2 separate regions of the Homo sapiens genome follow, and region 2 is linked to region 1. The links are contacts of gene promoters, found by promoter capture Hi-C in human tissues and cell types (Jung and others, 2019). All regions are on one chromosome and are shown on one strand. The core of a region is centred on a gene start or on the middle of the fragment in contact, and the rest is flanking DNA. Distances in the headings are between cores, read along the strand shown. Region 1 holds the start of CDH1 (cadherin 1). Region 2 overlaps ZFP90 (ZFP90 zinc finger protein).

Evidence for each region. Contacts are between HindIII fragments. The study calls those that stand out against the background at their distance.
Region 2: a contact is called between a fragment that was not itself captured here and the fragment with the promoter of CDH1 in region 1, in 2 of the 25 tissues and cell types used here (adrenal gland and liver).

Annotation. Positions count from the first base shown.
Region 1 is chr16:68,736,038-68,739,081 of GRCh38, forward strand. It overlaps CDH1 (cadherin 1), which reads left to right and starts at 1,255. Exons shown (of 16, transcript NM_004360.5): 1 at 1,255-1,426; 2 at 2,260-2,374. The coding sequence starts at 1,379. RefSeq lists an enhancer at 276-420, a cis regulatory region at 348 and a silencer at 1,301-1,370. The HindIII fragment of the contact is 7,364 bases long and covers 1-3,044 here.
Region 2 is chr16:68,565,808-68,569,134 of GRCh38, forward strand. ZFP90 (ZFP90 zinc finger protein) reads left to right here. Exons shown (of 5, transcript NM_001305203.2): 5 at 1-1,324. Among named protein-coding and RNA genes, the nearest start is that of ZFP90, 28 kb to the left of the region's middle. The HindIII fragment of the contact is 4,837 bases long and covers 1-3,327 here.

The sequences.
Region 1 (3,044 bases), core at 5-2,504:
ACAGCATAGGGAGACATTTCTGATCATTATTCCCATTAGGAGGGTGGAGAAACTGAGGCTTTGGGAGGTGGTCCTGACCTAGGGAATCAATTTGCTGACTCACTAACCCATGAAGCTCTACAGTTAAAAAAGACTAGATTAAAAAATGAGAACTCAGTAAAGGGGCTGAGGCAGGAGGATCGCCTGAGTTCAGAAATTTGAGATCAGCCTCGGCAACATAGTGAGATCCCCTCTCTAGAAAAATTTTTTAAAAAATTAGGCCGCTCGAGGCAGAGTGCAGTGGCTCACGCCTGTAATCCAACACTTCAGGAGGCTGAAGAGGGTGGATCACCTGAGGTCAGGAGTTCCAGACCAGCCTGGCCAACATGGTGAAACCCCGTCTGTACTAAAAATACAAAATTAGCCGGTGTGGTGGCACACGCCTGTAGTCCCAGCTACTCAATAGGCTGAGACAGGAGAGTCTCTTGAACCCGGCAGGCGGAGGTTGCAGTGAGCCGAGATCGTGCCACTGCACTCCAGCCTGGGCAAGACAGAGCGAGACTCCGTCTCAAAAAATACAAACAAAACAAACAAACAAAAAATTAGGCTGCTAGCTCAGTGGCTCATGGCTCACACCTGAAATCCTAGCACTTTGGGAGGCCAAGGCAGGAGGATCGCTTCAGCCCAGGAGTTCGAGACCAGGCTGGGCAATACAGGGAGACACAGCGCCCCCACTGCCCCTGTCCGCCCCGACTTGTCTCTCTACAAAAAGGCAAAAGAAAAAAAAATTAGCCTGGCGTGGTGGTGTGCACCTGTACTCCCAGCTACTAGAGAGGCTGGGGCCAGAGGACCGCTTGAGCCCAGGAGTTCGAGGCTGCAGTGAGCTGTGATCGCACCACTGCACTCCAGCTTGGGTGAAAGAGTGAGACCCCATCTCCAAAACGAACAAACAAAAAATCCCAAAAAACAAAAGAACTCAGCCAAGTGTAAAAGCCCTTTCTGATCCCAGGTCTTAGTGAGCCACCGGCGGGGCTGGGATTCGAACCCAGTGGAATCAGAACCGTGCAGGTCCCATAACCCACCTAGACCCTAGCAACTCCAGGCTAGAGGGTCACCGCGTCTATGCGAGGCCGGGTGGGCGGGCCGTCAGCTCCGCCCTGGGGAGGGGTCCGCGCTGCTGATTGGCTGTGGCCGGCAGGTGAACCCTCAGCCAATCAGCGGTACGGGGGGCGGTGCCTCCGGGGCTCACCTGGCTGCAGCCACGCACCCCCTCTCAGTGGCGTCGGAACTGCAAAGCACCTGTGAGCTTGCGGAAGTCAGTTCAGACTCCAGCCCGCTCCAGCCCGGCCCGACCCGACCGCACCCGGCGCCTGCCCTCGCTCGGCGTCCCCGGCCAGCCATGGGCCCTTGGAGCCGCAGCCTCTCGGCGCTGCTGCTGCTGCTGCAGGTACCCCGGATCCCCTGACTTGCGAGGGACGCATTCGGGCCGCAAGCTCCGCGCCCCAGCCCTGCGCCCCTTCCTCTCCCGTCGTCACCGCTTCCCTTCTTCCAAGAAAGTTCGGGTCCTGAGGAGCGGAGCGGCCTGGAAGCCTCGCGCGCTCCGGACCCCCCAGTGATGGGAGTGGGGGGTGGGTGGTGAGGGGCGAGCGCGGCTTTCCTGCCCCCTCCAGCGCAGACCGAGGCGGGGGCGTCTGGCCGCGGAGTCCGCGGGGTGGGCTCGCGCGGGCGGTGGGGGCGTGAAGCGGGGTGTAGGGGGTGGGGTGTGGAGAAGGGGTGCCCTGGTGCAAGTCGAGGGGGAGCCAGGAGTCGTGGGGACGATCTTCGAGGGAAGGAGAGGGGCATCCGTAGAAATAAAGGCACCTGCCATGCCAAGAAAGGTCGTAAATAGGAGTGAGGGTCCCGGGGATAAGAAAGTGAGGTCGGAGGAGGTGGGAGCGCCCCTCGCTCTGAGGAGTGGTGCATTCCCGGTCTAAGGAAAGTGGGGTACTGGAGAATAAAGACATCTCCAATAAAATGAGAAAGGAGACTGAAAGGGAACGGTGGGCTAGGTCTTGAGGGGGTGACTCGGCGGCCCCCTCCCGGGAGTTCCTGGGGGCTCGGCGGCCGTAGGTTTCGGGGTGGGGGAGGGTGACGTCGCTGCCCGCCCGTCCCGGGGCTGCGGGCTGGGGTCCTCCCCCAATCCCGACGCCGGGAGCGAGGGAGGGGCGGCGCTGTTGGTTTCGGTGAGCAGGAGGGAACCCTCCGAGTCACCCGGTTCCATCTACCTTTCCCCCACCCCAGGTCTCCTCTTGGCTCTGCCAGGAGCCGGAGCCCTGCCACCCTGGCTTTGACGCCGAGAGCTACACGTTCACGGTGCCCCGGCGCCACCTGGAGAGAGGCCGCGTCCTGGGCAGAGGTGAGGGCGCGCTGCCGGTGTCCCTGGGCGGAGTAGGGAGGGGTTGGAAAGGGGCCGAGAAATTGCACTCCCACACCCCTGGGTTGCAATGGGCAAGCTCCCTCCTTGGCTCAAACGACACCCCTTGGAATTTACGCAGATTTGGGGATCCAAACGTTTACGACTGAACACTGTGGTGGAGGGGGTAACCCTGCCTGGTTGTTGACTATGTTATAAAGAAGAGGAGGTTGAGGGCACTTACTAGAAGCCTTCGTATTTCTCTTATTGCCCTCAGCACTGTAGAGACAGTCTCTCATTTCAGACTGCAAAAACCTGGTGGGTGGGAAGGCCTGGCAGGAGTATTCCCGTTTTACAGTTGAGCAAACCGAGGCTAAGAGAGTGACGTCCACTTGCTCAGGGTCAGCAGAGCAGATATCTGAACTGGGATCTGACTCCCAGGCCCCATTAAGCACCATCTCTGGGATGACTGAAGAGCAGCCCTCTCTTGGTTACTGGGCTGTGGCTTTTGTTTACAGATATAAAAGCTTTTTTTTTTTTTTTTTTTTTTTTTTTTAAAGACAGGGTCTTGCTCTGTTGCCCAAGCTGGAGTGCAGTGGCACAATCATAGCTTACTGCAGCCTCCATCCTCTGGGCTCAAGTGATCCTTCCCATCTCAGCCTCCCTAGTAGCT
Region 2 (3,327 bases), core at 604-3,103, 170 kb before region 1:
CAAAGAAAAGATTTCACCATTAAAAAAATTAACTTGGCTAGGTATGGTGTCTCACACCTGTAATCCCAGCACTTTGGGTGGCTAAGGCAGATAGACTGCTTGAACCCAGGAGTTCAAGACCAGCCTGGACAACATGGTGAAACCCCATCTCTTTAAAAAAAAAAAAAAATCCAAAAATTAGCTGGGCATGGTGGCATGCAGTGGTAGTCCCAGCTACTCAGGAGGCTGAGGTGGGAGGATCACTGGAACCCGGGAGCAGAGACTGCAGTGAGCTGAGATCACACTACTGCATTCCAGCCTGAGCAACAGAGCAAGACACACACACATCAATTTATTTTAGTTGTATAATGCTTTTCTATTAGTAAAGCATCAGCTAAGCTTCAGTGGCCTGCTCCATCCCCTAATGACTCCCATGGGCTATCCTAAAGGAACTTCCAGAACCTTTGTTGGTGTGTTGACATTGACCATGCAGACCAATTTGGGCACAACTGGACATTGATTCCTTTTACACAAGAGCTGCCTCCCAAAGATAGATAAATTTTCCCAGCCCTAAATATGAATCATGGGGCAAGATATTGGTCGTATTGATGGTGAACCTTTCCTACTGGATTCTTTGCATGCCACATAGCAGGATTCATTGCCTTTCTCTCATCATGGATGGCATGCAGCAGCACCCAAGTATTCTTCATTCTTTGCAGGGAAAAAATTGTGCATGGGGGCTGAAATGTAATATGTGTAGCTCAATTAGTCTCTCCTCTGTGATGCAAAATGGAATATTCAATGGCAGATCTGCCCTTCTGAGATGCTGACCATCCAAAACACCTTGTTTATGGTGCACCATGATTAGCTCACACACAATGCCAAGGCTGTGCTTCTATTATCTGATACATAGTTTGACAATGGGTAATTCTACTCAGACCCTCCCTACTGATTGGCTAGGATGCCTGTCAGGAACTCATTATGCTACTGGTTGTTTGGGGATCCCCATAGTGGACTACTTTCAGGAATGGCATGAATTGTAACCAACTGAGTGCTGCCCCCACTGTTACGGAAGTTTATAAAACCTTAGTTCCAGAAGACCCAAAGGAGAGTACTGGTTTGTGTTTGGTGCTTGGCCTAGATCCAGCCACCACTCTGAAACTCAGCACATCTTCATTGACAGGGAGGGAGCCCAGGACATATGTGTGGCTCATTGACCAGAAGGCTTTCTTAGTCCCAACAGCCATGAACCATGCACTTATGGATACCCAGCCTTTTAGGGCTACGTGAAATGCATCCTTGTAACATCATTGTATTCTTTCAATAAATAGCCTTCTGAGTTGAATGGGAGTCAGTTTGTCGTTTTCAATTTTCAGAACTTGGCTAAGATTAAAGAGTGGTGCACCAAGAGGGAGGAATTAACTGCTAAACTCATCACAGCCAGGTGAGTTAATAGCTACCATTTATTGAATGCTTACTACTTTAAAGACATTGTGCTAGGTGTTTCACATCTGTCATTCAATCCTTATAACTTCTGGTTAGCGGTGTGGTGGTAGTTCTTGTCTTTGCCCAGCATTTTCCCCCTTTTCCTCTTGCAACAATCTGATTGTATTGACTGTAGGAACCTAAATCAGGATGTCCCTGGGGCTCACTGATAGTTTTAGGGGCAGGCATGAGACCTAGTTCAGCTAATCAGAGTCCTTTGCCAGAATTTTTTCCAAGTAGAGCTGGAAGGAGCCCTACTTTGGGCTTTTGTGTTGCTAGGCCAAAAGATAAAGGCCTAGAGCTTCCTGGAACCTGATTTCTTACCAGAGATGGGAAGTAGGAGAGGACAAGGTTGACATGATGGTGTTCTTGTTTCTATTTCCTGATGTCCTTAGACCTGGCTCAATTTCTGAAGCTCTCCTTGGGATTCAGGAAGCTCCCCATCAGTCCAACAGTTTCTCCTTTTTGCTCAAGCTAATTTTTTATGTTTGTTGCTTGCATTAAAGAAACCTAAAATATGTATGATATACTTTTACCTGCCAGAGCATCTAGCGCACCTCCATGGAAGATGAGAAAAGACTTCTGCACTTTTAGGCATATTGATGGTGGTGATGCTTGGTTTTTTTAATAGCTGCAGTAGGCTTTTCACTTTGCAGTATTCTGACTTCAAGATTGAGCACTTTTTAAAAATACTAAGGTGGTTAATTCCTACTCATCTGTTAAAATGCAAATGGTGCTTCAGGAAAGGTTTTGCTGACTCTCCTATTTCAATTACATTGGTCTCCCTTTTAAAAATTTTCATGGATTACTGTTAATGTCCTCCATGTTACCACAGTTTGTATTTGTGATTATTTGGTTTTCTTTTTCCTACACTAGATGGTGAGTTCCAGGAAGGCAAGAGTCCATGTCTGTTTTGATAGCTCTTTTTATTACCCTGCTAATTAATGCCAGGCATATGGTAGATACTTAATATAGTGATATAGTGTTTTAAGTGAGCAATTGAGTGGAGATTGATTGCTAGACAAAGAAGACTGGTAGGTAAATGAAAAGATGCTCAATCTTGAAGTCAGAATATTGCAAAATAAAACAATGTAATACTGTTTCCTACCAATTAGGCTGGCAAAAATTGAGAAATCTGGCAGAGGGGAATTAGAACTTTTATACACTGCTGGCAAGAGGGTAACTTGGTATAATTATTTTGGGGAGTAATTTGGCAATATCCAGTAAAATCAAAGCTAAGCATATCTCATGTCTCAGCAATACCACTAGGAGATACATATCCTAGACTAGAAATTCTCCCTTGTGAGGAAAAGAGACACACACAAAGATGTTTATTGAGGCAGTGTTTTAAAGAGTAAAAATATGAACACAACAGAAATACTGGGAAGTGAATAGGTTAACAATAAGTCATGGCATATTCTTTTTGAGACAGGGTCTTGCCTTGTCACCCAGGCTGGAGTGCAGCAGTACGATCTCAGCTCACTGCAGCCTCCACCTCCCAGGTTCAAGTGATTCTCATGTTTCAGCATCCCAAGTAGCTGGGACCACAGGTGTGCACCACCACACCCGACTAATTTTTGTATTTTTAGTAGAGATGAGTTTTCGCTATGTTGGCCAGGCTGGTTTCGAACTCCTGGCCTCAAGTGATCCATTTCCTTGGCCTCCCAAAGTGCTGGGATTACAGGTGTGAGCCACTGTGCCCAGTCAATCATGGCATATTCTTATAATTTAACATACAGTTTTTAAATGAAGGAACCAGAGCATCTGGCGAAACAATAAAGAAGAGCCTAGAGCTGCCTATTCCACTCCTATATCCATCCAGCTAAATGTGGCTGAAGAAAAACAACTATGACAATTAGTCCC